2 separate regions of the Homo sapiens genome follow, and region 1 is linked to region 2. Evidence: promoter capture Hi-C in 16 types of primary human blood cells and fetal thymus (Javierre and others, 2016). All regions are on one chromosome and are shown on one strand. Each heading gives the region's core, a stretch centred on a gene start or on the middle of the fragment in contact. The rest is flanking DNA. Distances are from core to core; before and after follow the strand shown. Region 1 overlaps SPIRE1 (spire type actin nucleation factor 1). Region 2 holds the start of PRELID3A (PRELI domain containing 3A).

What was found. The method cuts DNA at HindIII sites, captures the fragments that hold promoters and counts their contacts. A CHiCAGO score of 5 or more calls a contact.
Region 1: a fragment that was not itself captured here is called in contact with the fragment with the promoter of PRELID3A in region 2 in 4 of 17 cell types (erythroblasts, endothelial precursors, megakaryocytes and 1 more); the score reaches 7.2 in erythroblasts.

Annotation. Positions count from the first base shown.
Region 1 is chr18:12,528,107-12,531,943 of GRCh38, forward strand. All of the region lies in intron 4 of SPIRE1 (spire type actin nucleation factor 1), which reads right to left. Among named protein-coding and RNA genes, the nearest start is that of PRELID3A, 120 kb to the left of the region's middle. RefSeq lists a silencer at 451-651. The HindIII fragment of the contact is 453 bases long and covers 2,237-2,689 here.
Region 2 is chr18:12,406,513-12,410,271 of GRCh38, forward strand. PRELID3A (PRELI domain containing 3A) reads left to right here and starts at 1,417. Exons shown (of 7, transcript NM_001142405.2): 1 at 1,417-1,495. The coding sequence starts at 1,464. RefSeq lists enhancers at 816-1,477, 1,478-2,137, 1,995-2,244 and a silencer at 1,215-1,794. The HindIII fragment of the contact is 9,540 bases long and covers 1-3,327 here.

The sequences.
Region 1 (3,837 bases), core at 1,213-3,712, 120 kb after region 2:
ATTAGGTTAAAAAAACTTAATCTCATTGATGGAGGCCCCAGTGTTACCCTAAGCTGAGGAGGCAGCAAAGGAGACATACCTAAAAAGACTACAAGAGATACTGTCTTGGGTCCCTAAATCTATGACAGGACTGACAGTACAAACATGGTCCTTGCCCTTAAGAAGTTCACAGTCTAGTGGGAGATAAACGTATACAGTAATTACAACACAGTGTCACTGTTGTAAGTGACAGAAAGATGCCAGAGTGGAGTGCTCATTGAATGAACATAGAGAAGAAAGAATGACTTCGATTGGAAAAAGCATTTCAGAATAGTAGATAGACATTTGAGTTAGGTCTTAAGGAGAAGCAGGCATTTTCTAGGTAGCGAAGAGGGGAAAGGGACATTTCAGGTAGGTGCAGAGGCCCTGGACATTCAGGAATGAAGGAAGTGTAGGCAACACCAGCACACATAGGGCAGGGATGAATGGTGAATGAAGAGCCTGGAGAGGTCAGAACTGGGTCAGATTGTGAACAGCTGCCCTGTCATGCTAAGGGGTTTACACTTTCCACCTACAAGTATCAAGAAGTCATGAAAAGGGAAGTAACATTAGAGGGTTTGTCATGGTCCAGGCAAGAGATGTCAAACCAATGCGTGAGGCAAGGTAAGGTAGACACAGTGAGAACACGAGGGAGGCTCTGCATTTTGGAGATAACTGAAGAGCATCAGGGGACCAAGATGCAAGACAGATGGTGAGAAACCAGACCTACAATAGCTAAACCACAGATTCTTTAATTCATTTAACAATGATCAAATATCTACGGAGTCCCCATTACACTGGGATATAACAGTGAATTAGAGAGAAAAGGTCTCTGCCCTCAATGAGATTATATTCTTGTGGCAGACATCAATGAATAAGAAAAGAGACCAACAAAACAACTACAGACCATGATGGCTGCTAAAAGGGAGATAATAGGGCAACGCGATTAAAATGAAAACAGCAGGCTGGGCACAGTGGCTCACGCCTGTAATCCCAGCACTTTGGGAGGCCGAGGCGGGCGGACCACGAGGTCAGGAGATCAAGACCATCCTGGCTAACATGGTGAAACCCCGTCTCTACTAAAAATACAAAAAATTAGCCGGACGTGGTGGCGGGCGCCTGTAGTCCCAGCTACTCTGGAGGCTGAAGCAGGAGAATGGTGTGAACCCGGGAGGTGGAACTTGCAGTGAGCTGATATTGCGCCACTGCACTCCAGCTTAGACGACAGAGCAAGACTCCGTCTCAAAAAAAAAAAAAAGGGCAGTATGTGCTGAATATATAAAGGTGTCTGGGGTGGCCTGAGGAGATGTCCTTTCAGCTGAGGTATGAAGGGTGTGAGTGAAAAAATCATACTTGAAAGGGTCAAGGAAGACAACACTTATAAGAAGCGTTTAATATGTCAAGAAACTAAGCACCGCAGGTACAGCCACACTTGAGAAGAGTGCAAAGATCATTATAATCAGATAATCAGAAATGACAACCCACACCTGTAGAGCCTACTGCTGAAGAAATCCAAGATGAGTTAACTGTATTAGACATCTTATCTCTCAAAGATCAAAATGTTTGAAATATTCTACCTTAATTTGGGTGATGTTTATGTGTATGAATGACACAAGAAAGTGCAAGAGGAAGAGAAAATTTTCATCACTTTGAGTACATAATCTAGAGAACAGAGATTAGGACATTAAAAACCTATTTTACATGCCTTATAAAGTTCTTGCTGCAATATCATGAACACATGCTATACAATGCACAATTATTTTCACTGTTCATTCACTGATGACTAATGTTACTGTATTACGAATTTATTCTGTACAAGGATTTTCTACCAGTAGATTGTGAAAATAATTTTATTTTTAGCCTATACTGACATCAATATAGTAGTAATGTCAGTATTGAATGTTACAGCTAGCTTACCAATTTTAAAAAGTTAAATCTGTGTTTTTAAAAGGCCTACAGCATCCTCAATTTTGATTAATTTATCTACAGCATTGAACTGCTTTTCTGTAAAATCTATCTCAAATTTAAGATATAAAATAAAATAGTATACAATAATTTCATAGAAAATTCTACCAGGAATGCACTTACTTATCTATATACACTTTGCCTACAACGTAAGACTAATAACAAAAATGAGGAAAAGCTTGTTGAATAAATAGAACAAAAAATTTAGTCACGCAAATTTTATTTTCTGCATAAAATTTTAAGACTAGACGGAAGCTTAACATGTCTTGCCTCCTCCCCGATTTTTATGTTTTTAGAGACAGGGTCTCACTCTATTACCAAGGCTGGATGGAGCACAGTGGTGAGATCATAGTTCACTGCAGCCTTAAACTCCCGGGCTCAAAAGATCTTCCTGTCTCCGCCTCCCAAGCAGCTAGGATTCCAGGATTCTATGATCTTGCTATGCTTCTCAGGCTGGTCTCAAAACACCTGGTCTCGGCCTCTCAAAGTGCTGGGATTACAGAAGTGAGCCACTGAGCGCCAGGCCTTCCTCCCCATTTTTAAAGATGAGTAAACAGAAGTCTTGCAAATGCTATTTGATTTTAAGAAGTTACATGAATAATGAATGGTATGATTCACCAATAAAGGGGCTTTTACAAAGGTCAGTGGTAATATAAATATTTCAAATTATGAAATAAATAAAAAATGAGTTATTTGCTTTAAAGAAAGCTTTCAAAAAATTCTTTTAAAACAGTGTACTCTTATGATACATCAAGTTTCTACTATAATATCATTATACCCCTACTATGAAACAGTGTATTACTGGAGAATTTGGTGAGCATACTGCACACTCTCAACGTGGAGGCAATGATGGCTAGAGCATGCTAGGAACGTATCAGAAAAAAATCAACTGACTTTCTAGTCTTAAAATTATTTTATCTCAGTCTTTGACACTTCTATGATACTCTATCTTTTCTCATTTCACATCTCCCTCTTTATTTATTTGTTTATTTTATAGATAGGGTCTTGCCTTGTTGGCCAGGCTGGTCTTGAACTCCTGGCTTCAAGTGATCCTCCTGCCTTGGGCTCCCAGAGTGCTGTGATTACAGGCATGAGCCACTGTGCCTGGCCTCCCTCTTATTTCATACCTCAACTTTACATGGTACCCCCCCATCCCATTTATGTGCATATGCAGGACCATCATCCCCTAACACCAGCATGTGCATGCCCACACATTCTCTCATAAACTCTCTTCTCTCCAAAGCCAAATCTTAGTCTTTCTGACTCACATATTCTCTCTCCAGAACTGCTCAGAAACCTACATCAAAGTATCTACCTCCATTTTCTTCAGAACTCTCTCTTTAGTTTCATCTAATAATGCATTTTATGTGACACTCTTAGAGGAAAATAGCAATAACTTCTATGTAGTGGAACACCTTTGCCGGACTGAAGGGTATGATGAGGATGAAAATGCTGTTATCAGCAGCACTGAGAACTTACTTCTATGTGAATCTCTAATCTCTCTAAGCCTCAGTTTACTAATTTGCAAAGAGTCACAGGATTGTTACAAGGATCAAATGGAGTAAGGAAGAGAAGGCATTTTATAAAGGAGCTGTATGAATATGACAGTAAAGTAGCAGGGGTTAAAGTTTTAGGTAATGATAAATAATTTTATTTAACAATAACAAAACTGGGGACTGATGATCAAAAAATTACCTGGACCACAATAGATTAAAGGATACTACCATTAATATAATTTCATTTTCTCCAATAAAAAATTTTACAATTGAAACTGCCCCCTCTGCACAGCACAGGCTCACCAGCTACCCCTGCAGTATGGCTCTGGAATATGGTGGTGTCACTGGCAGCAGGGCA
Region 2 (3,759 bases), core at 167-2,666:
TGCACAAATGCGCTCCCCACGCCCACGGACGCCCCAGGGGCGCCAGGCGCTGCTCTAGGCTGAGACTCAGCCGACTCAGACAAGGGCCCTGCCCTCTCGCCCTATCTCATCCTGGAGAAGAGTACCCTCTTCTTAGAACAAGCATCTCACTTCCGTGCACTTCAACTTCGTTTGTGGCAGTGCAGGGTACTTTGCAAAGCTAAAAAGTAGTTTATGCGAAAGGGAGACTCTTTTTCCTTAGAGGATTTGCCAAGTTGTAATCACAAATTCTTTTTGAGATACACGTACATTTTTTTAAAGCTAAATAAGATTTCCCCCCAGTTTTATAACTCAAGAATGTATTTTCTCAAGGACTTGGGAGTCATCTCTTTGAAATGTCATCCCCGTCTCCCAGTTTTGTGGGAGGGTAGGAGCCCAGCTACCAGAGAGCACCTGGCTTCAAATTGTAAACCTACCTCCTGTCATAAAGGTATGAAAATTCATTTTTCCTTTGGATAAAGGCAATTAGCAAACGCAAATGGCCACTGCATTTACCAATGGCCACTCCATCATCAGGCGAATTTAGGATGAACTCTGCGACAAATGGTGTAGTGGAGTCCCCTCCCCGGAGGGCTGTCTCGTTTACCTCGGGAGCATGCGTGGGGTAGGTTGCATCCTCCCGGCTGTTTGATACAGGCTGAGATTTCTGTCTTTGCAGCCTATTTGGCGGATTGCTTGTGATGCACATCACATGCTGGTTTTGTTTTGTTTTGTTTTGTTTTGTTTTGTTTTGTTTGAGACGGAGTCTCGCTCTGTTGCCCAGGCTGGAGTGCAGTGGCGGGATCTCGGCTCACTGCAAGCTCCGCCTCCCGGGTTCACGCCATTCTCCTGCCTCAGCCTCCCGAGCAGCTGGTACTACAGGCGCCCGCCACCACGCCCGGCTAATTTTTTGTATTTTTAGTAGAGACGGGGTTTCACCGTGTTAGCCAGGATGGTCTTGATCTCCTGACCTCGTGATCCGCCCGCCTCGGCCTCCCAAAGTGCTGGGATTACAGGCGTGAGCCACCGCGCCCGGCCTCACATGCTGGTTTAATGTTTGTTCAAGACCCAAACTGCAGTGGAGTTTTGAGGGTTGGCAGGTTTGTTTTTCATCACACGTCCCCGACAGTACAAACCGGCGTAGCTGGACAGGGCCTTGGGAGAATTTGGACAGTGGGAGTAAGGACGAGCGTCGCCTCCTACGCCCGCGGCATCTGCAGCAAGCGCGCATCGCGCACCCCAGGGTAGCAGCGCAGGTCTGGGGCTGCGCCACAGCCGCGCCCGCAGAGCTATTTTTAGCCGCTGCAGCCAGCCTAGCCACCAGACGGGGTGGGCGGCATCCAAGGGCGCCCCGCCCATCGAGGCCCCGCCCACGCCGCGCCCGGAGCCGCGCGGCCCGAAGCACCCGGCCCGGATCGCAGAGCCCGCGCCCTGCGCCGGCGGCAATGAAGATCTGGAGCTCGGAGCACGTGTTTGGGTGAGGCCGGGCTGAGGGCCGCGGTGGGGCCGTCCAGACGCCGGCTCCTGCTCCCGAGCCCGGCTGGAGCGGTCCAGGAAAGGCCGGACCTCACAGCGGGCCTCGCGGAGATCCCCGCCCCGCGCCGGCCGTTCCCAGACCGCAACTTCGGCGTCCCGGAGAGGGCACGCGCGCTTCCCCGGGACCGCGGTCTGGGCGAGGCTCTGCGCCGGGTACGGCCTCTCCCCCGGCGTGCGCAGGGGCCTGGCTGCAGGCACAGAGGCCCCGCTGGTGGTCGACAGCCAGGGCGGGGGCAGCCGGAGCGGGGGCGGCCGGGGCGGGGGCGGCCGGAGCCGGGGGGGCGGCCGGGGGCCTGGCGCTCGCTGCTCTCCTTGGGGTCGGGAGCAGGGCAGGGGAGAGGCCTGCAAGCTGGCGCCTTTGCTGAGATTGTCATAAACCTTCCGCGCGTTTCACGGAGGGCCCACGGCGGGCTGTGAGCTCTGGAGGAAGCTAAAGGGGCAGAAGGCATTTCGGGGGCCCTGGCTCTGAACTCACTTGTAGGCATGGAAGGCCTCCAAGCTAGCGTGGAAAACCTCGAACTGTTTAAAAATGCTCCCCCGGCACACGGATGGAAGTGGAGGTCATTATCTTAAGTGAAGCCAGGCCCAGAAAGACAAGTATCGCATGTTCCCACTCCTAAGTGGGTGCTTAAGAATGTGTTCACATGGATGTGGAGAGTGGAACGTCAGATGATGGAGACTCTGAAGGGTGAGGGGGTGGGTGCAGGGAGGATAATGAGAATTGCTTAATGGGTGCAAGACACCTTCCCGGGTAATGCATACCCTAGAAGTCCTGACTTGACCACTACGAAATTTATGCATGTAACGAAATTGCACATATACTCCATAGAATTGTGCAAATAAAAAGAAGAAAAAAGTGCCCTCCTAACCTAAGTGGTATCTTTTCCTTAAGTCAGTGATCTGTGACACACTGAAATTATTCTTTAATGTTTATTTACAGCAACAAAGATTTTTTAATTATCTGACCTCACTTAAGCATTAAATATTTTATTTTGGGGGGAAAAAAAGTACTGCGTGGAAGGAAATTGTCATCCTTTGACTCTTTTTATTTATTTTTTTCGAGACAGAGTCTCATTCTGTCACCCAGGCTGGGTTTTTTTTTTTTTTTTTTTTTTTTTGAGACATAGGCTCGCTGGGTCACCCAGGTTGGAGTGCAATGGCGCGATCTTGGCTCACTGTAACCTCCCCCTCCTGGGTTCAAGTGATTCTCGTGCCTCAGCCTCCTGAGTAGCTGGGACTACAGGTGTGGGCCATCACGCCCGGCTAATTTTTGTATTTTTAGTAGAAACAGGGTTTCGCCATGTTGGCCAGGCTGGTCTCGAGCTCCTGACCTCAGGTGATCCACCCGCCTCGGCCTCCCAAAGTGCTGGGATTATAGGTGTGAGCCACCGTGACTGGCCTGACTTTAAACATGTAAAATTATAATAAAAATATATCAAGTGGTTTCAAAACCTCTGAAATTATTTTTCATGAAGTCTTTAGACTTGATGGGATCTAATTTTTTGTATGGCTTGCAGTGTTTCTCAAGTGGGTTTCCATCAGCAACAAGGATGGGGGCATCACTGAGCCGTCTGGATGCTGTGGACAGTTAAGTCATTGCATACCAGGAGTGCCAGGTGGTTGGGGCTCAGTTTTCTCATGGAATGGCCGAGGTCTGCCCTAGAGGTTTGTGAAATGTCTGTGGACAAGCACAAATGAATAGCTAGCTGTGAAAAATCACAGTTGATGCTTTTGAAAATTGTTGCAGCTGCTAACTCCCATTTATTTTTTTTAAGCTTTACCGAAGGATACTTTACATACCATAAAATTATACACATTTTAAGTGTATAATTCATTAAGTTTTGCTAAGTATGACCATCACACACACAGTCCAGTCTTAGAACACTTCTGTCCTCCTGCAGAGGTGCCCCATGCTCATTAGCTTCACATTTTACCCCATTTTCACCCCTGCCCCAGGCAACCAGGAATCTTTTCTGTTTCTATGAATTTGCCTTGTTGGGACATTGCATGTAAATGTCATCCTGCAATATGGGGTGTTTTGTGTCTGTCTGCTTTCACTTAGCATGATTTTCTTGAGGCTCACCATGTGGTAGAGTGTCAGTATTTCATTTCTCCCATCATTCATTTTGTATTCCTGGCACCCCGCCGGGGCCCGGCGCCTAGCAGGTGCTCGGAAGGGGTGAGGAATCTTACATGGAGATCAGA